7 separate regions of the Homo sapiens genome follow, and regions 1, 2, 3, 4, 5 and 6 are each linked to region 7. Evidence: promoter capture Hi-C in 16 types of primary human blood cells and fetal thymus (Javierre and others, 2016). All regions are on one chromosome and are shown on one strand. The core of a region is centred on a gene start or on the middle of the fragment in contact, and the rest is flanking DNA. Distances in the headings are between cores, read along the strand shown. Region 1 has its middle 7.8 kb from the start of NKX2-2. Region 2 overlaps XRN2 (5'-3' exoribonuclease 2). Region 3 has its middle 9.3 kb from the start of BETALINC1. Region 4 has its middle 9.6 kb from the start of LINC01727. Region 5 has its middle 11 kb from the start of NAA20. Region 6 overlaps LOC105372558 (a long non-coding RNA gene). Region 7 holds the start of RALGAPA2 (Ral GTPase activating protein catalytic subunit alpha 2).

What was found. The method cuts DNA at HindIII sites, captures the fragments that hold promoters and counts their contacts. A CHiCAGO score of 5 or more calls a contact.
Region 1: a contact is called between a fragment that was not itself captured here and the fragment with the promoter of RALGAPA2 in region 7, in 1 of 17 cell types (activated CD4 T cells). The highest score is 6.4, in activated CD4 T cells.
Region 2: a fragment that was not itself captured here is called in contact with the fragment with the promoter of RALGAPA2 in region 7 in 2 of 17 cell types (naive CD8 T cells and naive CD4 T cells); the score reaches 5.7 in naive CD8 T cells.
Region 3: a fragment that was not itself captured here is called in contact with the fragment with the promoter of RALGAPA2 in region 7 in 2 of 17 cell types (activated CD4 T cells and total CD4 T cells); the score reaches 6.2 in activated CD4 T cells.
Region 4: a fragment that was not itself captured here is called in contact with the fragment with the promoter of RALGAPA2 in region 7 in 1 of 17 cell types (non-activated CD4 T cells); the score reaches 5.0 in non-activated CD4 T cells.
Region 5: a fragment that was not itself captured here is called in contact with the fragment with the promoter of RALGAPA2 in region 7 in 3 of 17 cell types (activated CD4 T cells, naive CD4 T cells and total CD8 T cells); the score reaches 6.1 in activated CD4 T cells.
Region 6: a contact is called between a fragment that was not itself captured here and the fragment with the promoter of RALGAPA2 in region 7, in 2 of 17 cell types (naive CD8 T cells and activated CD4 T cells). The highest score is 6.3, in naive CD8 T cells.

What each region holds. Positions count from the first base shown.
Region 1 is chr20:21,520,242-21,523,514 of GRCh38, reverse strand. It overlaps a transcript of NKX2-2 not described here. Among named protein-coding and RNA genes, the nearest start is that of NKX2-2, 7.8 kb to the right of the region's middle. RefSeq lists an enhancer at 1,812-2,626. The HindIII fragment of the contact is 5,340 bases long and covers 1-3,273 here.
Region 2 is chr20:21,388,222-21,391,269 of GRCh38, reverse strand. XRN2 (5'-3' exoribonuclease 2) reads right to left here. Exons shown (of 30, transcript NM_012255.5): 30 at 1,445-1,997. The coding sequence ends at 1,932. Among named protein-coding and RNA genes, the nearest start is that of NKX2-4, 7.8 kb to the left of the region's middle. The HindIII fragment of the contact is 650 bases long and covers 1,272-1,921 here.
Region 3 is chr20:21,537,709-21,541,050 of GRCh38, reverse strand. No RefSeq gene overlaps it. Among named protein-coding and RNA genes, the nearest start is that of BETALINC1, 9.3 kb to the right of the region's middle. The HindIII fragment of the contact is 2,586 bases long and covers 456-3,041 here.
Region 4 is chr20:21,558,948-21,561,975 of GRCh38, reverse strand. No RefSeq gene overlaps it. Among named protein-coding and RNA genes, the nearest start is that of LINC01727, 9.6 kb to the left of the region's middle. The HindIII fragment of the contact is 7,332 bases long and covers 1-3,028 here.
Region 5 is chr20:20,004,760-20,008,066 of GRCh38, reverse strand. No RefSeq gene overlaps it. Among named protein-coding and RNA genes, the nearest start is that of NAA20, 11 kb to the left of the region's middle. The HindIII fragment of the contact is 2,731 bases long and covers 311-3,041 here.
Region 6 is chr20:21,404,564-21,407,665 of GRCh38, reverse strand. The region is part of intron 2 of LOC105372558 (a long non-coding RNA gene); the gene reads right to left. Among named protein-coding and RNA genes, the nearest start is that of NKX2-4, 8.6 kb to the right of the region's middle. The HindIII fragment of the contact is 2,875 bases long and covers 244-3,102 here.
Region 7 is chr20:20,710,904-20,714,008 of GRCh38, reverse strand. RALGAPA2 (Ral GTPase activating protein catalytic subunit alpha 2) reads left to right here and starts at 1,365. Exons shown (of 40, transcript NM_020343.4): 1 at 1,365-1,634. The coding sequence starts at 1,529. RefSeq lists enhancers at 905-1,104, 929-1,223 and a silencer at 1,215-1,474. The HindIII fragment of the contact is 11,955 bases long and covers 1-3,105 here.

The DNA.
Region 1 (3,273 bases), core at 518-3,017, 810 kb before region 7:
GCCTCCCAGGGGCCCGTAATAAAAGGAAGCCAAGAGCAGGGGAAAGAGGAAAGCTACGGAAATAAACCCCAGAGACTGCCTTTAATCCTGGACAGGTGGCATTTTGGCACAAGCGCACTGAAATCACTTTCCTCCTGGGCTGCAGGGGTGAATCCCTTTCCCGGCAAGACCGACACCCCTCAACCTGGAGAGGAGATCGTGCTGGGGGAGGAGCCTGGAGCCGGGGCGAGAGGTCTGTGACCTCCCGCGAAGTCGTGCTATCGGCCTTGGATCCGCGTATCTAGTGTAAACGCGGTTTCACACATAAATAACGTGCCACATCTGGCCCTTTGGTTTTATGGCGTCTTAGCGACCGAGCAATTTATAGATGGCGACCTTGTTAACCAGCAGTCCGGGCTCGCCAGGAGCTGCGGAGTCCAAGGCACTGCTGGGGACGGAGGAGGGGCGAGGGTCAGGAGAAACCTGGGGTCCCAGATCTCCTGCTCAGAGGGGCGCAGGAGGGAGGGAATCTACCCGCGCGTTTGGGGGCAGGGGGCCGAGGCGGGGTGGAAGCCCCCTCCCCGCAAAGCCTACCATGTGGCAGCTGAAAGAGCCATCGAAGCCCAAGTGTGTTTGCGCTCATACCCAATTTATTACCGCTGAACATATGGCCAATATTTTGACTCACGTCAGTCCGGCAAGGAAAACAAACAGAGCGCGCGCGGCGCGGGGGAGCTGCCCCCTCCGCTGGGGCTGCGCGGTGGCCGCGGGGCCGGAGCTAGGAGGGTGGGGCCGCTGGGCCGGGAGCCTGGAGCCAGGAGCCCGGAGCCGGGAGGGGGAGCGCTCGCCGGCCGCGTCGAGCCGCCGCCCGACCGCCCGCGACTCCGCAGCCGCCCGCGACTCGGGATAAAGAGCGGCCGGGACCTGCGCGCTCGCCCAGCCGAGGCTCCAGCGGCGCAGTCGCGCTCCAGGTGAGCCTCCAGCTCGCACGCGTTTCCGGTGAACGCGGGATGGGGATGGCGCGGGGCACCCGGCGGAGCCCGGGAGCCGCAGCGGAGCCCGGCGGTGGCGATGGAGGAAGCCCGGCGTCGCCCTCGCTGCCAGGCGCTGACTGTCTGGTCCTCCTGCCACAGCCGCCCGGCGCGGGAACGCGCTCCGGGCACGGTCACCGCGGCCTGCCAGCAGAGAGGGGTCTCGGGGCACCGTCGTCGCCGCCGAGCGGCGCCGGAGCTCGGGTTCACGGCGGACCCCGGTTATGAGCCCCTCGCTCTCCCGGGTCCTGACTCGGCTCGATCCCCAAGCCGCGTAGTCCGGACGCAGCAGGTGGGCAAGTGCGGGCCTCCGAAGTTCTCCCCGACTTTGCGGATCACGGCAGGAGTGGCGAGCACTCGAGGACGGGCAGGGCCCCTCTGTCGCGCCTGCAGTCAGGAAAAGTTTTACCAGCCGCCGAGGCCAGGTGATCCCGCCGCTGCGCACTTTCCGGTGCGGTCAGGGAAAGCGGGACTGTCCCAGGGGCTGGGAAGGTGCGGGGCTGGGAGGCGGAGGAGGAGGGAGGGGCGCGGCACCCGCGGCGGTCCCCGCCTGCGGTCCCCTGAGCCCCGCCTGGTAGGGCGCGCGGTGGGGGAAGGGCGCAGAGCGAGGGGGGTCCGGGTAGGTGGAGTACTAGATAAAGACGCGCCTTGAAATGCGGCGGGGCTGTCGCCGCAGCTCCGGGAGTAGAAGGCGGAGCGGGCGCGCGGAGCGCCTGGCTAGCTCCCTCCCGATTGCCCGGGGCCGGTTGCGCCTCGGCTGGCGGGGCCGCGGTGAGGAAGGGGCGGCCGCTGCACCCACCTCCACCGGGTAAGTCGCCCCCTGTGCGTCGCAGGGAGCTCGGGATCGGGGATTGAAACAGAGGCAGAAGTCCCGAAGGTAATTTGGAGATGGCGCCCAGTGGAGACAGGGGCTTCTCCTCAGACGGAACTGGGACGTGAGGGGACGGTGGTGATGAGCACGAGGGCAAGTGGTGGGAGTCGCAGACAGGAGGAGCCGGGGCTGAGGGCCCGCGCAGTGGACTGAGGTCTCTGGAGAGGCGACTGAAGACTGGAGTTTGGGAGGCGAGTGTCGCCTGGGCCGCGCCCGGCGCCGGACAGTTCTCGTTTGTGTCAGTAGAGATCGCCAGAGGATCAGAAATGAACCTCGGTGGGGTCCTTGTCTCCGAGGGGCGCCCCCTCCGCCCCAACCTCCTCCCACAACACACACGCACACACTACCAGGAGGCCCTTTGGAGCTCCTCTGGCGCCTTCTCGACTTTAGTGGCTCTTGGGGGTGGAAAGGGGACGTTGCGTCTAGGGGAAGGTTGTGAACCTCTGGGGCTCACATTGGAGAGAGAGAGACAGAGCCCTAGGAACCCCCTCTCTGTGCCCGAGGGCCCAAGGGTGCATTCCCTGTCCTTCCCGGAACCAGCCCTTAGCTCCAGCTAAGAGCGTGCCTTCTCCGCGCCACCGACAACTACTTTTCACATCAGCCTGCCCGACCCAGCTTTAAGTGCTGAATGCAACCCGTTAGGAGAGCCGCTTGTTTTCCAAAGTCTTGTGGTAATGATTTTGTCACGTGTTAAGAAGTAAATTCAGATAAGAGAGTGCTTTCAGCGCGTGTTTCCTGGAGAAACCCAGATCTCCCGTATTGAAATCGCCCTCATCCGGGGAAGGTCGGGCTTGGCTGAAAGAACGTTCCTGAAGGCAACACTGACGATGCGTAATCTCATTGTAACATATTTAGTCATTAGAGCAGCGCGAACGAATAAAGCCAAGGAGTTCGCCCAGGGGGACGTGGCGTTTGGTTCCCCAATAAACCGGTGATAATGGATTGGCTGGGACAGGCTCGTTTGGCCCGAGGGGGGCTTAAAGCTAGGTTTTTAAAGAAAATATTGGAGAGAGGCCGGTTCCATTTTGTAGCGTGCCCGGAGCCACAGTTCGTGTTCAATTTAACATCCATGAAAGTTAAACGGCTTTCCTCGCCTTTTATTTTATTGGATGCATTTTTAAAGATCTCATTAAAGTGCATTTATCAAAGTCCTAACATATGCCCGCAGGGTCTTATGCCCACACAATGAAGCTGATTAATAGAAAGACAAATACTAATTTCTATTACTATTTACATCCTTGGGAGATATGTGCCCCTTTTGTGGTGGGAGGGAGGCAGATAATTGGGAAAGTGTTGTATATTTTGCCTTGAAAAAGAATAGGGAGAAGGGAGCTCACCTAGATGCCTTCCTCCTGCATCCACAGTTAATCGCAGGGGGACTCCAGGCTCTAG
Region 2 (3,048 bases), core at 347-2,846, 680 kb before region 7:
CCCAGAGTAGTCAGGCTGTTTCCAGGTTCTAAGATTTTGTTTAACAGGAGACCCTGAAAAAATGTGCCGTTTAAAGAGAATATAATTGCGTACAAGTAACTACTTAAAATTGGCCCAACGAATTTATTTTTACATCAGAATTTGGAGGAGATATTTACAGCTTTAAACATTAAAGCTCTGAAAAGCATTTTGCTGATTGAAATGGGCAGGGCATTTTCCTGGAAGATTCAAACGCGGAACCAAGTTGGAAAGAGATGAAGACTAAGGATGGAGAGGAAGAAGCAAGGGTGAGGTCACGGAGCAGGGCCTGAAGCCGGCTCAGCGAGGGAACACCTGCCAGTTCTGCAGAGGAAATCTGCCGTCATCAGTTTCTCCATCAGGCCTTTTGCTCAGATGTCTTCCAAACAGTGCTTTAAACATTCAGTCAAAAACTGAGTCAGTCTCAGGCCAGCTTAAAACTAAGCCAAAACTAAAGGTCTGAGAATATAAAGAGTGGAATTGTGGGTTTTGACTATGAACTATAAACAGTAAAACATTTATAAGCTCCTTTAGAATATGCAATGCTTTACTGAGATGGCTGTCTACATTTTTAATATTTGGGAGATAAACTTACAGAGAAATTTAATAGAAGGCATTATCACTTGAATGTTGAGCGAAGGCAATTATGTAAGGGTTGGGTTGGTAATTCCTGATGGAGAGACTCTTTGTCTCAACAATAAAGGATCCTGCTCTGGTCACCCATCATTAGCAATGAACTCAATAGCTACAAAATACCTTCCTATTCAAGGTTGAGGTGAGATTTTTTTTTTTCCCACAGACTAAGTTTAACAAGCGTGCTTCAGTTGAATATTAAAGCAAAAATATCCTAAGTCAGGAGGTCAAAGAGAAGCTTTACCTCACAATCTTGGGCTAGGAGGGAAAAACTGAAACAAAGCAATAGTCTCTGTATGTGTGTCTAAATATGTTTTGGCAATCAAATGAAAATGCATATGTAAGTGCTGTATGTGAACTCCAAACACACATTTAAGCAATTTATAGTGTACTTAGTAGCAAGGAAAAACATGAGTACAAATTGCAATCTAATGACATACAAAAATATGCTAAGGAGCATAGACTATTTGGCCATTAATTAAAATTGTCAACTTGAAGATTTAAAACAAGTCCTTAAAACTGGAGAAGTCTACATTAAATTTGTAAAAATGTAATTTATCTCACAAAGATTTCTGAGTTAGCCAGATCAGTCACTGACATAATACAACAAAGTTAAAGCTTTTGTTATGTCTTGCTGACCCTATCTTTTAAAATCTACTTCTTCATTGACTTCTTTGTCCTTTGGTTTGGACATCTGATTACAGAAATAGTTTTCTGCAAAAGTTAATTTTAAAAAACCACGCTTGGTCAAGATTTTCAAAGTTGAAATACTGCAAAATAACAACACAAAACAGAGTTTTAAAAGTTTAACTTTATTTTTTTTTACTAAAGTTCAGAAATTTCTGTAAGACAAGTACATTAATGAAATGTTTCCAAAGAAATACTGAACAATATATACTCTAGTTTGCTGAGGTTCCAGCTCGAGTTCAAACCTAATTCTTGTGCAATAAAAATCAGCATGGATCTTAGATGATCTAGAATACACTGTGTTTTGAAATCCACAGCTGGTTTCATTTTTAACCATTATGAAAAACCAGTACTCCTATTCCATCAAATGTGTTTTATAAGCAATAATAAATTCAGATCCACTGTATTATGCAACATACATCTTTGGAAAGCAACATAAACAGTGAGATCAGATCAGTAGAAATATACACAGTTAAAAGAAATACACAAAGTACTGTAGTTTTATTAAAAACTACTACTTGAGAAAGAAATCTTTCCACAAATAGCATAAAACTGTAGAATGATGAAAGGATTTGGGAAAGCTTTACAAAAGCTTAATTCCAATTGTATCTTCCTGAGGGTGGTGGCAAAGGGTATTTCCTTCCTTCTCTGGGATATCCCTGAAAATAAACAAAAGAAAGAGTTTATTTTCTGGACCGATACTCCTGCAAGTCAGTTAACTTTAAACCTCTATGGAAAAACACATCATAAGGAAACTGAGTATGTGTTAAAGGTACAGCACATGGAAAGGCCCCATAAAAGGTGCTTTGATCCAGAGCTTTAATACAGACTTGTTGCAAAGTTGGAGGCTAGCACAAATGCTATTACTGAAAAATAAAACAAAAAACCTTAACAATCACAAATGCACACAAATAACTAAAGTGTTCTGTGTAAACAACATGTACAGACAGTGGTTCTCAATTTTCTCACTGTCCTAGCAGTAGTAATTCAAGTCACTTTGTGGTAAGATACCCACATCAATTTAGACTTATTACACAAGGAAAGTAACTTTGCTTTAACCAAGGCAAGAGCTTGCTAAGTCAGTTAAGGCCAAATGAGCAATTGATTTTAGGGATTTTTTATTTAGCAACAAATAGTAGGGCTTTAAATGACATATTAAGGTTATTACACAATCCATTAGCCGTGACCTTTATAACATATCCTAGTATGTTTGCAAATAACATTTCTGTATAACAAAAGATAAACCTGACACCTCTTCATTATAAGTCCTTTCCTAGGCCTCTAGGGTTTTGAAATGGAACCCCCTCCCACCTCATTTTGCCACCCAGAGAGCACTTCAGTACTTTAAACATGAACATGTGCAGACTCAAGGCCAGAATGCAGGCTAAGGCCTTGTTTGGTCATATAAAACTTTACTAAAAATACAATGAAGTAATGATTCTATGTTTTTAACAACAAACTTCTGCAATTTAATAGTGCTTCAACAATTGTGATTTAATAAAAAGTATCTCCCTGGCAAAGGGACTGAGAAAGAAGAAATGTTATTTTCAAAAAGTCCTAAAAGAATAATAAATTTACCAATTGGTTTATATCTTCTAAGTAAATAAGAATTTTACCTCCTGTAACAGCACAGAGTTCCTTTAAAAGGAAGATCTCCAAAGGAGAGAGGAAAATGGATGAACTGGGGTCAGCAGTCTAGGCAGCCAGCTA
Region 3 (3,342 bases), core at 499-2,998, 830 kb before region 7:
TTAGTTATCAAAAGCTTCCCTCAGTCAAGAGTTAGACTTCTCCCCACCTTTCTCATATTCGTCTTCATATCCCCTTCAGGCACAAGTGTGGGTAGCCTCTGCTCTCCACCTGTCTATGCCCACCTCCTCCTCCATTTCCTGGTCATTGTTTTGGGCCAAGCTTCCTCCCCAGAACCCACCTGGGTGAATATGACTGGCATGTGGGGAAGAGGCCAGGCACTCAGCAATCCTTACTCAGCTAGGAGTTGCTCCCCTCTGTCTGGCAGGTATGCACTGGACATTTTCTCTTGGACACTGCCTTGAGTCCTGTGGAGATTCCCGCAGCCACTCTCTCCTGCACATCCCTCGGCTAAGGCAAGCATAACTCTATGCTAGGCAGACACTTGAATTGTCCCCGCAGGACCCTGGGATCCAGAGGCAAAGTTCGGTGGATTTTGCATACAGCTAATGAAGCTTAGGCCTGAAGGGCCCCCCGCATATCGAGCATTACAATTTATTAAGTGACTTTGAGCAACTCTTGAGATTCCAGTATAATTTTTCTTCATTGCTTTATTAATAGATTGAACTACATGAGTGGGTTTTGCACAACTCTCCATAACAATGTGTTTTTAAATTAAACCACTGATAGTTTATCTACATCACTGATTATTTCAAAGAACCAGTGCTTGGGTTTTTTCTTTAGCATGATTGTTTTTCTGTTTACAAATACACTTATTTCTGATTTTTTATCTACTTTAATCCCACCCTTCTGCTTTATTTAGATGTTTTGTTGATCGTTTTCTTAACTTCTTGAATAGAATACCCTTTATTTTCATTATTTCTTGTTTAATAATGAAACTGTTTACTTTCTTTCTGAAATTTATGGAAGTTTTGTTGTAGCTTAAAATGTGGTCCCTTTTTTGTGACTCTGACATGGGTGTCTGAATAAAAGTGTAGAGATTTCAACATAGATGCATGATGTGGCTGGTCTGTCATATGTAAAATTGATCTGTCTTATTACTTATCAATATTTTTACTTTTTATTTTGAAGAAATTCAAAACTACAGGAAAATTATAAGAATAATGTCAATGAACCGCCATATATGCTTCACCAGCTACTCACACTTTGCCATTTGTATGTGTGTACAGGTGTGTATGTGTATACATGTATGTGCGCATGTATGTATGTGAATGTGTATGTATGGATATGTGTATTGTGTACATGTGTATATGCAGATGAGTATATGTGGATGTATATGGATGTGAATGTATGGGTGTGTATATGTACACATGTGGATGCCTGCATACATATATGTATGTGAATGCATGTATGTGGATGTGTGTGGATGGATGTGTGTATGTATGTATGTGAATATGTGGATGTGTACACGTGTGGATGTGGATATGTGCTGTGTGCACGTATGTGTATATGTATGTGAATGTGTGTATGCATATATGTAGATGTATGTGAATGTGTATATGTGTATATGTGGATGTGTGTATATGTAGAGGTGTATATGTGGAGGTGTGTGTGTGTGTGGATGTGAATATGTGTATGTGGATGTGCACGTGTGTGGATGTCTATGTGTGGATATGTGGATTGTGTGTATATATATGTATGTGAATGTGTGTATGTGTATATGTAGATGTGTGTGGATGTGTATATGTCTGTGTGTGTGTGTGAACCATTTGAGAGTAAGTTGCAGATATAATGACCCTTCACCCCCAGATTCTCTACCATGTGTCTCCTAAGAACAAGAACCATCTCTGTAAACCAAAGAGCAAATATTTAATTCAGGAAATTGAATACTGATACAATGCCATTATATAATATCAAATATATTTAATATTATCTTTATTCACATTTCACCAGTTTTCCCAATATTCTCCTCCAAAGCAATATTTTTTCAATCCATATTCCAATCCAGGATACTTATTTTTTTGTTCCCCTTAACCTGTATGATTGAGAGAGATTTGGCAGACTTGTGTTGTGCACATTTCTCTTCGTGTTTTTTGCTTGCTGTCTGTACTTTGATGCTACATCCATGTATATGCACTGGGGCACTGTGTTTGGTAAGGAGATGTCATCCATTCAAGGATGCGTCCTTCCACTATAAGGACTTTGCTGGAGATGAGGACAGTTCTTCAGCTCACCCCTCCTAGATTTTCATGCTGAGTAGACGGGCTTGGAGAGCTTGCGCTGAAGCAGCTGAGAACCACCACATTTTCCCTAGAGGACGCCATTTAAGATCAAGAGGATCCCTGCATCTAAAACTCAGTTTCTGGGGCAAAAAGGACTTCTGAAGATAAACTCTTATTGAGATATTTCCTGCTCAGTAAGGAAAAAAAAAGGCTGAGTGCCGTGGCTCATGCCTGTAATTCTAGACTTTGGGAGGTTGAGGTGGGAGGATCACTTGAGGCCAGGAGTTTGAGAACAGCCTGAGCAACATAGCAAGACCCCATCTCTTAAGAAAAAAAAAAAAGAATAAAATGGGTAATTAAAAAAGGATAAAAAAGAAAATTAAGCCAGTCGCGGTGGCTCACGCCTGTAATCCCGGCACTTTGGGAAGCTGAGGCGGGCAGATCACGAGGTCAGGAGATCGAGACCATCCCGGCTAACACGGTGAAACCCCGTCTCTACTAAAAATACAAAAAATTAGCCGGGCGTGGTGACGGGTGCCTGTAGTCCCAGCTACTCCGGAGGCTGAGGCAGAAGAATGGCGTGAACCTGGGAGGCGGAGCTTGCAGTGAGCCGAGATTGCGCCACTGCACTCCAGCCTGGGCGACAGAGCAAGACTCTGTTTCAAAAAAAAAAGAAAAGAAAATTAAAATAGGATAAACCAAACAGAAACAAATGAATCTAATATTACTTCAGATGAGTAACATATCCATACTGGAGAAAAGAAAAAAATGTTTAATTAATTAAAAAAACCTATTCCAAGTAATTTTGAATGCAGTACTCTATTTCTCCTCAGTTTAAAACCAAAAAGAACTAAATAGATATTGAACTTCAATTAGAATGTTTGTTTATCTCAACGGTATGTGTTTGCAACACTGAAGCTTTTTCTATATTATGTGGGATTGAGCAAATGAATAAATAATCAGAGCCAGGTTTCCCACCATTAAAAAAGGGAATTAGAAATAGTGAATTTGGCCAGGCATGGTGGTGTGTACCTGTGGTCCCAGCTACTCAGGAGGCTGGGGTGGGAGGTCACTTAAGCTCAGGAGGTCCAGGTTGCTGTGAGCTATGATTGCACCAGTGTACTCCAGCCTGGGTGACAGAGTAAGACCCTTCCTCAAACAAAATAAGAGAGAGAGAGAGAGAGAGAGAGAAAGAAAGAAAGAAAGAAAGAAAGAAAGAAA
Region 4 (3,028 bases), core at 102-2,601, 850 kb before region 7:
TTCAGTGGCATGAGCTAATAAGTTTCCTTTCTTGCTCAAGCCAGTTTGAGGTGGGTTTTTGTCAAGTGCAGTTCAGAAAGTGCTGATACATGAAACATCACAGTGCACCCGCCACCCCACAGAGGGGGATTCCAGCCTCTCTTCTGGAGGCTGCCTCCATCAGGCAACCATCTTCAAAAAGGCCCCAGGATGGAGCAACAGAACCCTTAGATGTCAGTCAGTGTCATCACCTCCCTGCTTATATGGGAAGACTGGGGGACAAAGAGGGGTAAGGAATTGCCCCAAGTTGTGCCTTCGACAGAGCCAGATAGGATATCAGCCCTTGGCTCTATCAGTAGGCACACCCACGCCAGGGGGCGGGTGAGAGCCAGCAGGGAGCGCCACCCTGGTCTCCTTCACAAGGACACCCACTGTAGGGAGGGGATCTCACTACTTCATGAAAAGTGGCTTTATTATTGCCCACTTCTCAATGTCTCCGTGTTTCTAATTGCAATCTAAAAAACACACCCTTTTTTTTTTTTTTGAGACAGGGTCTCACTCTGTCTCCCAGGCTGGAGTGCAGTGGCGCAATTCAGCTCACTGCAAGCTCCGCCTCCCAGGTTCAAGCGATTCTCCTGCCTCAGCCTCCTGAGTAGCTGGGATTACAGGCTCCCACAACCATGCCTATCTAATTTTTGTATTTTTAGTAGAGACGGGGTTTTGTCATGTTGGCCAGACTGGTCTTGAACTCCTGACCTCAGGTGATTCTTTTACCTCGGCCTCCCAAAGGCTGGAATTACAAACATGAGCCACCACCCCCAGCCAACACACCTCTTTTTAAAAAGCCATATCAAATCCATGATTCCTGGGATGCTATTGCTTAGAAAAGTATTTGTCGAACTGTAGCCTTCTAATTAGCAACATCAGAATCACCTGAAAAATTGATAAAATGCAAATTCTCAGCCCCTCCCCAGACCTACTGCACCCTGAGGGGGAGATCCAGCCATACGTCATTGAACAAGACCTCCAGGTGATTCTGATACATGTTCAACTTTGAAAGCCACTGGCTACGGCTAAGTAAATTTTTTAAATTGGTTTAAAATTGATTTAATGAAAATTACAAAGTAAATGTAAATGATTTGTGAATATAGCAAAAATGTAGGAAGCTGTACAGAAGTGATTAAATATGAAGAAGTGCCATCCTATAACATTGAAGCCTCTAGGAGTGCAATGGAAGGAAGGTCTATAACAGCCCAGGGAGATTAAACCCACCCGCAAACACTGAAAGAGTCCCCCTATGCTGGCAAGGGGGGCTTTATCACTTGTTTGTGTGTTGTTTTGCTGAGGGACAGAGAGTTTACCTGTTTGACCGTTTATCCCTCACTATTTGGAAAACTATAAAATAGAAGAGTCCTCTCTTTTAAGATGATCTACCCAGATGACTTGGGGACTTTCCCTTTGTTATAGATAAACAGGTTTTGGCCCTAAGGCTTTGAACATTTCCCGGTGAATAACAGTCACTGCCGGTTATACAAACCCAGCTCACCTTGAGCACATGAGACCCAGTGAAACCATCCCGTCACATGGGAAGGGTGGGCCTGAAAGAGCCTTCACAATCACAGAGCATCCATAACGACCTTGAACGCAGATTCTTAAGAAGGACCAGGGATGCACGTGGTTTCCTTGATAATGAGAGCGTGGATTTCAGGCGGGGCCCTCGGAATGCTTGAACCCAGCCCCACCAGGGGCTGCAGTCCCTCGTGAATCTGACGCATCTGCTCAGAACAGCCTTGAACCACATCCATGAAAATCATTGTCGCCACCGTTGGACCCACCTCCCCACTGAATAGGAGAGCAGAGTGCTTTGTTGAGACCCCTTTCCTAAAGGGTTCGTCTATTTCTTTAACCATGTTTATGTGGGATTCTCTGACATTCAAAAGATAGCAGACTCGCATTTAATGTCTTTATAGCGCAGCACTGTGTGTACCCTCGACTCCAAATGCAGAATGTAACTCATGAGCATAAAAGCTCTAAAGAAACCTTGGTCACTCATGAGGATGGCATAAAATCCAGAGGTGCTGTCTCAAGATGGGGTTCATCTGTCCCTGAAATGAAGACACAGTGGTGGTCTTTAATCAGAAGACAGCTCTGGGGATTAATTGGTGTGAGAATGATGAAAAACAGCATTGTTTCTTTGTAGTCTATTTCTTTTTGTCGTTATTTTTTATTTTTTTTAAATTGGGATAAAATACATATAACATAAAAGTGATCATCTGAACCATTCTTAACCATGCAGCCCAGGGCATTAACACACATTGTTGTGCAGTCATCACCACCATCCATCTCCACAACTCCTTTCATTTTGCAAAACTGAAACTCTATGAGTGAAACAACTCCCCGTTTCTCCCTCCCTCAGCCCTTGGCAACCACCGTTCTACCTTCTGTCTCTACGAATTTGACCCTAGTCTGTTTCTGAGTGAGACCTTTACCCGACTCGTTACTGGGTAAATCCTAATGAGAGTAAAATTGTCTCAGCCCCTCAGCGAGCAAGTTTCAGATTCAGGCATCTCTGGGATACCGGTATGACCATAAAGCAGAACTCACAGAATGTGGCCACAAGTGGGGGTTTTCTGCTCAGTATTTTGCTCTGGATTTGTTTATGTGAACATCCCTGGGGTAGCAGCAGGCACACTGGGTTTAGATTCAGAAGAATTGGGATTGAAAACCCAATGCTTCATTATCTTGGAGAAGCCACCTGCTCTCTCTAAATCTCTTAAGTTGGTTCTCATTTTAATTTTTCTTTTTTTTTAATTTTTTTTTTTTGAGACAGAGTCTTATTCTGTCGCCCTGGCTGGAGTGCAGTGGTGCGATCTCAGCTCACTGCAACCTCCGCCTCCCAGGTTCAAGCGATTCTCCTGCCTCAGCCTCCTGAGTAGCTGGGATTACAGGCATGTGCCACCACACCCTGCTAATTTTTGTATTTTCAGTAGAAATGGGGTTTCACCATGTTGGTCAGTCTTGGCTCAAACCCCTGGCCTCAAGCGATCTG
Region 5 (3,307 bases), core at 427-2,926, 710 kb after region 7:
TGCAGGGTTCTAAGAGCAGCACACCTCCTACATTTGTGTATTTGTATCAGCTGCACAAATGCCAAGGCCCCAAATATACCTTGAACTAATGCTTCTCAAGCCAACTCTAATGTGCTCGTGAATCTTGTTAAAATGCAGATTCTGATCCAGCAGGTCTGCCAGGGGTCTGAGATTCTCACAAACTCCCAAAAGATGTGATGCTTGATCCGTGGACTATGGTTTTCAAGGCAAAACCCTAAACTATCTGTTCAATGAGAGTTTGCAATTTGTCAGGTCTCATATTTTCATGTGCTAGCGAAAAATAGAAGCTTTGTGATGTCGTAGCTGCTTCACTTACGTATTTTTTTCTGATTGGTTAAAGAGTCTCTAGCATTTTATTGTTTTCTGTAGTTTTTCTTTCAGTAGATAATAGATGCATAAGTCTTTTCTGCATATGATCGTACATCAATAGGCTGCAGAGAAAAATGGGAGTGAGAAAGATAAAATGGACGGAAACTGCAATCTGGTAAATAAATGCATTCTCTCATAATTTGTAGAAGTGGTGAGAAATCGGAAGCACGCACATCAGAAATAAAAAGAATTAATCACGTCAACCTCTGTATTCTTCTTGGTAAAGCACCAAGTTTTAAACAATAGTCCTGTTAAATGATATAAATGGACATATAAATTCGTGAATATAATAAAGTAAAAGGGGAAAAAGGTGGAGGAAAGTGGTTAAAATAATCACTGACTATAATTATGCTTTTACTTAAATAATAATTCCTTTTTGGGAAATACTATTTTAGACTCTTGTGCAGGCAGAGATGGTTCCTCTTAGGATTTCGATCTGCCCGTGACTGGGAAGCTAGCAAGACGTCTTTGCAACCTCCCTTGCTCCCTTCTCCCTTCTTGGCGAAAGTCACCCCTGGCTATGGGCCCTGATGATGCTCTTGACCAGCATTGAATACTGGGGAAAATGAGCTACTCCCAACTCACACGCACACACCACCATCACCGCCATCACCACCGTCAGCAGTAACAACAATAAAGTTAGGCCAGGTGCGGTGGCTCACGCCTGTAATCCCAGCACTTTGGGAGGCCAAGGCGGGTGGATCACGAGGTCAGGAGATCGAGACCATCCTGGCTAACACGGTGAAACACCATCTCTACTAAAAATATAAAAAATTAGCCGGGCATGGTGGCGGGCACCTGCAGTCCCAGCTACTCAGGAGGCTGAGGCAGGAGAATGGCATGAACCTGGGAGGCGGAGCTTGCAGTGAGCCGAGATCGTGCCACTGCACTCCAGCCTGGGCGACAGAGTGAGACTCCGTCTCAAAAATAAATAAATAAATAAAATAAAATTAATGACTAGTATTCACTTTATGTTTGATCTTCCTACATTGAGCAACCCGCCCCAGTACATTTTTCTTAAACCTTTGATACCCATTACTGCCTTTCTTCTGTTTCACAAGAAACTTGCCAGCAGATAATAGCATGAATGGGTAAGCAGAAATAAGCAGTAGGGGTGAAATGCCAAAGCAGTCGATTATCTAATAATCATAATAAGTAACATTTAACAGTGCTTGTGGTGTGGTGCCTGGATGTTCTAAGCACTTTGCATGGATCAATTTATGTTTGCCTTACAGCAGTGCCTGAAGAGGCAAGATGCTATTTTCATCCTTGGCTAGTAATAGGTACATACGTTTGACAGGATGCATGTGTCTGTTCCTTTGTAGATGTAACCTGTGAATGTGTTTTATTTTATATACACATACCGTTTTTTTTTTTTTAACTTTTAAGATCATCCCTAGTTGATATGCTAGAACTGCACTCTCCAATATGGTAGCCACCAGCCACATGTGGCTATTGGTTATTTAAGACATGGCCAGTGTGAAATGAGATGTGCTGTAGGTGCAAAATGCACACAAGACTTTGAAGACAATATAAAAAATAAAAAAATGTAAAATGCCTCTTTAATATTTTTAATTGATTGGTTGTTGAAATATATTTGAGATATCATGAGCTAAATAAAATTACTAAAATTGATTCTACATATTTCTTCTTGATTTTTAAAAATGTGGCCACTAGTAAATGTAAAATTACCTATTATGTGGCTTGCTTCGTATTTCTACGGGATAGCACCAGGCTAGAAGTACATGTTCCATGGTCCTCTGCCAGCCAAATCAGGTTGAGAATGCATGCTTGGTTAGGTGTCAGTGGTCTTGGTTAGGCAAAGGTGTTACTTCTCGCAGGTGTGTTTTTATATTAAAATCCAGATTTTGATCTAAACTAGTAGTTTTCACAGCAGAAGCACCTTGGAAGTTTAAAATAAATATGGCTGGCTGGGTCGCCTCTGCAGAGATTCTGATGGTCTGGGCAGCTGGGGCATTGGGAGTTTTAAAAGGCTCCGGGTGACTTCAAGCTGACAGCCAAAGCTGAGAGCCACCTATTCAAATGGAACAACGGACACTGGGTCTTGGTGACAGATAGTGTGGGCGGGTAATGTTTGCAGTGGGGCCGGGTTCACACTTTTTGAGTCTCTGGTTGGAACTGAAGAAACAAACTGTGAAAAGGATCAGAGCCTGCTTTTTGGCAAGGAGGCTTGGAATAGAGTTAAGAGCACCCTCAAACCTACTACGTGAGGGAAAACCCAGCCCACAGAATCATGGTGGGGAAATGGGAAGAAAGGGAAGCAATGGAGCTAATTATGTGTAGTGATATTTCCCCCAGGAAACCGAAGGCTGGTTACAGAGGTGAAGGCCGTCTAGGAGCTCCTCCCTGGCCACCCGTGGTCCTCAGGTTCTGAGCCCCTCTCCACAGGTGGCAGGATCTGACCACCCCCGTTCCCCAGCAGTGAGAAATGAGGGCTGGCTGTAGTAGTTCTAATGTGTGCACTCAAAGGAAATACTCAGATTCATTAATGTAATGATAGTCTAAGTGTCTTACATGCAGCCTCAGAGTTCAGGCAAATTTTACTTTTAAATGGGAGAATTTATAGCAGACTCGAGATAAGAAACTCTGCCCCCATCTCCACCCCCAACCACCTCACTCCAACTGAAGCTTCTCCAGGGAGACTTCTGAGGGGAGGCCTTGGTTACACTTTCTCAGAAATTTGGGAAGCTGAGGGGGGTAGATCCCTTGAGTTCAGGAGTTTGAGACTAGCCTGGGCAACATAGTGAGACCTCACCTCTACAAAAAATAAACACAAATTAGCTGGGCATGGTGGTGCACACCTGTAGTCCTAGCTAGTCAGGAGGCCGAGGTAGGAGGATTGTGCTTGAGCCCAGGAGGTTGAGGCTGCAGTGAGCCGAGATAGCACCACTGCATT
Region 6 (3,102 bases), core at 432-2,931, 690 kb before region 7:
TTCTCAAACTCCTGGCCTCAAACAATCCTCCCATATCAGCCTCCCAAAGAGCTGGGATTACAGGCATGAGCCACTGCGCCCAGCCTAAATATATTTCTATTTAATACCACCTATTTCTCTTCATTATGTGTAACATAGCTACCAGAAAATTTTAAACTATACTTGTGGCTCACATTGTATTTCTACTGGATAGCATTGCTCCATATACTTCCACACATTATTTGATTTGTTTTACAAAAAGCTTTTATCACCTCAGTAATTTTAATAATATTGAGTTAATAATGATCAATGCCAGTGTTCTACAAATATTTGTCACTATACCTGAGAAACTATATTATTCAATTATCTAAGAAAATTATTTCAAGCCAGTCATGGTGGCTTATGCCTATAATCCCAACACTTTGGGAGGCCAAGGTGATGAACTGCTTGAGCTCAGGAGTATGACCAGCCTGGGCAACATGGCAAAACTCCGTCTCTACGAAATATACAAAAATTAGCAGGGCGTGGTGGTGCCTGCCTGTAGTCTCAGATACTCAGAAGCTGAGGTGGGAGGATTGCTTGAGCCTGGGAGGCACAGGTTGCAGAAAGCCATGATCATGCCGCTGCATTCCAGCCTGGACAACACAGCGAGACCTTGTCTCAAAGAAAAGAAAAAAGCAAAAATGAAAATTACTTCATTACTGTAGTACCTAGAGGAAAGAAACACCTTCTATTACTGCTCCATTAACTCTACTCTAACCACTTGAAACTTCCAAACCTTCTGCTGCCCTTATAAAGAAAATGTATACAAAACAAATATCCAATTAAAATAGTCATCAAAATCATCTGGCAATGTAAGAATAGTCTCATTAACAACGGCTACTCAAAAATACCACAAATCAGGCCAGGCACTGTGGCTCATGCCTGTAATCCCAGCACTCTGGGAGGCTGAGGTGGGCGGATCACTTGCGGTCAGGAGTTTAGACTGGTCTGGCCAACATGGTGAAACCCCATCTCTATTAAAAATAAAAAGATTAGCAGGATGTGCTGGCGGGTCCCTGTAATCCCAGCTACCTGGGAGGCTGAGGCAGGAGAATCGTTTAAACCCAGGAGGTGAGGGTTGCAAGTGAGCCAAGATCACACCACTGCACTCCAGCCTGGACAACACAGCAAGACTCCGTCTAAAAAAAAATTGCATAAATCATCATCTATTAACCTTGTAGAGATGCAGGAGAGCAGCCATAAATAACTTTAAGATTTCTTTTTCACCCCTATTTAGAAGATCTTTACGTTTGAACTGTCAATGTTGATGACACTTCTCTTCTATTGTACCTATTAAATGAGATAAACACATAAAGCTCATGAAAGTAACTAGTATGTTAGTAAGACAAATAAATATTAGTAATGTTTACAATTTTTGCCTTATCCCCACCTTACAAATGGGATGTGTTCTGAAAAGTTCATTAGTAAGTCAGCTATTTAGAATTTGACATGCATTTTCTTTTAGACATATACATATATATATATATATATATATACACACACACACATATATATACACATATATATACAGGATATATTCACATGGATATAAACATATAATTTCAAATAGTACATAAAAGTACATAAAGTAATACATATTATGTATACATGTCTTAGTCCATTTGCTATATAGGAATACCTTAGTCTGTTGCTATAAAGGAATACCTGAGGCAGGGCAACTTATAAAGAAAAGAGGTTTATTTAGCTCACAGTTCTGTAGACTGTACCAGAAGCATCTGCTTCTGGTGAGGGCTTCAGAGTGCCTCAATTTACGACGGAAGGTGAAGGAGGGCAGGCATCACATGGCAAGAGGAAGCGAGAGAGAGAGGAGGGTGGTGCCAGATTCTTTTAAACAATCAGATCTTGCAAGAACTAAAGGAAGCAGTCACTCACTACCAGAAGGAAGGCACCACGCCCTTCATGAGGGATGCCTCCCCGTGATCCAAATATCTCCCACCAGGCCCCACTCCAACACTGGGGATCAAATCTCTGCATGAGATTTGGAGGGGTCAAGCATCCAAACTACATCAATATATAATTTTAAAATACTGCTCAACGTCAGGATATGAATGCCAGGGATAAGTTTATTCTAATATCAGAGGGGCTCCTTCCCCAGTTTTCTAAAGCACTAAGACAATCTTAAGCATATAGTAATCACTAAATAAATTCTTAGTTAATATAATTGTATGTGTTCATTCTAGATCTTTTTGCTCTGGAGGATTTTTTTAGTATGAAAAGGAGAAAACATAGGTAGAATATAATATTCTCTTATATTTAGAGTGCTTTGTGGGAAAGAACTAGAGTTAGTTTGGCATCAAAGAACTGATCTAGGACTGTTACCTGCAAATTATGGTGACCTATTTAGCCTCAGTATCAGAACTTTCTAATAACTAGGATATCAAACGATGTTGTAGTTTCTATGAAGTTTTTTTTTTGTTTTTTGTTTTTGTTTTTGTTTTTGAAACGGAGTCTCACTCAGTTGCCCAGGCTGGAGTGCAGTGGCGCGATCTCGGCTCACTGCAAGTTCCGCCTCCTGGGTTCACGCCATTCTCCTGCCTCAGCCTCCCAAGTAGCTGGGACTACAGGCGCCCGCCACCACACCTGGCTAATTTTTTGTATTTTTAGTAGAGACGGGATTTCACCGTGTTAGCCAGGATGGTCTCCATCTCCTGACCTCGTGATCCACCCGCCTCGGCCTCCCAAAGTGCTGGGATTATAGGCATGATCTATGAAGTCATTTTTTTAAAGTATGAAGCATTCCTGAATCAGAAGGCTACAAACCTGAACCATATTTTGTTCCTAAACCTTAGAGTCCTTAATTGAGATGATTCGATGTTGAGGTCTCAGACTTTTTAGGAATGGCCACTACAACAAGCCAATATTTAAAAATAATTCCATCTGCTATAGAACTATTAAGATGTTTATGTTCAGTGCTCCCTCCATGAAGCCCCATGACAAATTTTTTTTTAGAGCTGAGTATTAGGAAATGCCTCTTTCCTTGAGAAATGTTGTGTGTATGTCTGTGTGTATTGGGAGGGTGTTCTTCCTAAATGCAAGGAAAATATAACTGACTTTTTCAAT
Region 7 (3,105 bases), core at 116-2,615:
TCCTTTGTATGAATGTGTCTATACAAAGGAATATTACACAAATCTAAAAATAGAGAGACGCTCTAAAACTGTGAGTTTATTTATTTATTTTTTCCTTTTCGCCTGCCTGGTTGAAATATGTAGGACTACTTTAGCTTTTTATTGTATTTCATTTAATAAACTTTTATTGAGTGACCCTATGGGCCAAATACTGTGCTGAGGGATGGGGATACAAAGGCGTGTAAATCCTTGTCTCTTCCCTCAAGTTACAGTTCAGCTAGAGGAGAAAAAGACAGTTGTGTTGTCCCAATTTGGATGGAAACCACGTGATTCTACCTTAAGTACTTGCTGAAAAAGCTGAAAGGATGTCAAAACTTGCAGGATTCGGATGCCACTATACAATCCTACAGTGTAAGAAATCTCCTGACCATCTTTCAGCTCAAAGTCTTGCCCCAGGGAATAAGCGCCTGGCTTTAAAAAGTATACAGGCCTGAGTCAGATCCCTCAGGTTCTATTTCTGGTTCTGCTACTGGATCGCCATGTGGCTTGCACAACAGAGAACGCACCCTTCCTACAAAGAGGCAAGATCCCAAGGAGCCCTCTGAGCGAGCGACCTCCATACCCCAAGTGAGGTTGGGTTCCAGGAACCTAGGGGCCGGCTGAACTCCTCACCGGGGCACGCTCTTCCCTAGTGCCAAAGCAACTCATTTTAGTGTGAAATTAGAGCTGCGATTTCGGCACGGTCAGAGGGGCTTCGACTCGCTCCCTTGTGTGAATCCAGAAGCTAAACCTAAAAATAGTTTGCATTTGAAAAGCCTTGACACTTTTCTTACTGAGATTTTTGGGCGTGTGTGGTTCACGTTGCACTAGAGGAAAATGGGGTGGGCGCGCAGGAGGGAGAGTGAAACCACGGGCGATCTAGGCTGCCGGGGCAGGGGACGGACAGAGGCCGCCCTGCGCTTCTGCGACCCTGGAAAAGAGGTCGCAGCGCGTCGCCTGCTGGAGAACTTCATTTCCCAGGAGCACTTGCGGCCCGCGGCAGGGCGGGGCGACGTGCCCAATGCCGGCCCACTGACTCCCATCGTGCCGAAGACCGCCAGCCTGATTGGAGGACTGTCTCGCGGTGCATCTCGGGACTTGTAGTACAACGTGTGCGTGAGAGAAGCTCCTTTGTGATTCGAGGCGCCTTCTCGGCCCTCTGAGCGCGTCCCCGCTAGGTTTTGGCGCGGACGGGCTAGTGTCCCGCCAGGAGAGTTCGGCCTGTGTGCGCGTGCGTAGCGCCCAAGGGGCCGGCCGGCACCTCCCGCGGGGCGGGGCCTTCGGTTCCCCGTCGACACCGCCTTCCTGCCCCGCCCCTCGCCGTGACCGGCCCGCCCCTCCTTCCTGGAGACACAGCTGAGGCGGCGGCGGCGGCGGCGGCGGCGGCAGCAGCGGGGCTGGGGGCGGCGAGTGGCCCGCGCGACACGCGCCGGCCTCGACCCTATGCTTTGATTCGCGTGGCGCAGGCGCCTACTGCCCCGCCGGCGGGGCCCGGGCTTCCTGCCGCGGGATGTTCTCCCGAAGGAGCCACGGGGATGTGAAGAAGTCCACCCAGAAGGTGCTGGACCCGAAGAAGGACGTGCTGACCCGCCTGAAGCACCTGCGGGCGCTGCTGGGTGAGGCGCGCGCCGGGCGCGGGGGTCGGGGCGCCGGGTTAGGGGCACCTGCCGGGAGGGCGCTCCTCTGTGCAGGGGTCGGTGGCTGGGAGGCTGGGGAGGGGGATGGGTGGGCGTCCGACCCCCTTCCCTGGATCTGGGCTTGGACCCCCGGGGCTTTGTTTCCAGAAAGCCGCAGCCTGGCCCTCGGGCACTGCTCCCGTCGCCCTCGAGTTAAACTTAGCCCAGATTCTCGCTGGGCGCCTGCGCTCCCGGAGAACCTGGAGGCCGGGCACAGAGGTACCTGTCCCCTGTCCTCCCAGCAAGTGAACTGGATCCCAAGTGGTCATCACGTGCACACATTGAACTGTCACCTCCCCCTTTCATTTTTAAAATTTTATTTTTGAGTCTGAGACCCTAAGTAGACCGAGACCCCAAGTGAACCCAGCACAGACCTAATTGGGCTCTCATCTCTGTCATCCCCCTTTTAAATTTTATTTTTACTTTTGAGTGTGAGACCCCCATATAGACCGAGATTCCAGGCGATCCCAGCACAGATTTGTCATCTGTCTTCCCATGCTGCTTTTTAAATTTAATTTTTATTTTGGGTCTGGCTGCTTCAGTTTCTTTGTGTCCTTGGTGTGAAGGGGCCTTCTCTTCCTGCTTGGAGAGAGGGGTGGTTTTCTTGGGTTCAGGGAGGCTGCTTCTCCTTTATTACCGGCATGACAGTGATGCTGTCTGCCACCTTCTGGTTTATGGCCTGCCAGGTGGAGGTTCTGAGGAGCTCAGGTGGGCTTGGAGTTGACCTGTGATGAAGCTCGCCCCTGTGGGTGTGAGGTGTCCACAAGGCTTCCTGTCACCTGCTGCATGTGATCTGTAGCTGGTTCGCCTAGGCTATGTTTTGTTTTCTGTATTTTTTTACATCCTAAGTCTTAACTTTTCTTTGGGATGAAAACACCTTTGCTATCTATAGACACACTTACCTGTGTATTTGGTGGCGAAGGAAAGAACACCTTATGTTTCTTCCAGGTGTCTTTTAGTCCCAAAATTCACAAAAATCGCCTAGTGCTAATGTGTCTGTCACTTGAAAGAATATTGCATAAAATGATTTAACGTGTGAAGATTTTAAATAAAGATCTTGTTCATGAGATCAGAAGTTGCTGATTATTTCTATTTATATTCTACCTCTGAGGGGGAGAAGAACCCAAGCCAAACCAAACCACACCTGATTTTGCCAAGTGAAGTTATTCACAATCTCACATACCTTGAGGTTACACTGACTTGTTCAGTTTGAAATGAAATGTAAATTAGTTGCTGTTACAGGGATTCGTTTTCAAGACTTTTGAGAGTGAAGTGTGGAGAGTGAAGTGTGGCGTTCTTGGTAAACTGAATTTTCTACTTCCTGTAGATACCATGCACGCACAGGTTGCACAATACACAGGTTGCATTGTGTGGAGTTCCTGGTAGTGACTGATTAACACCTACTGCAGGG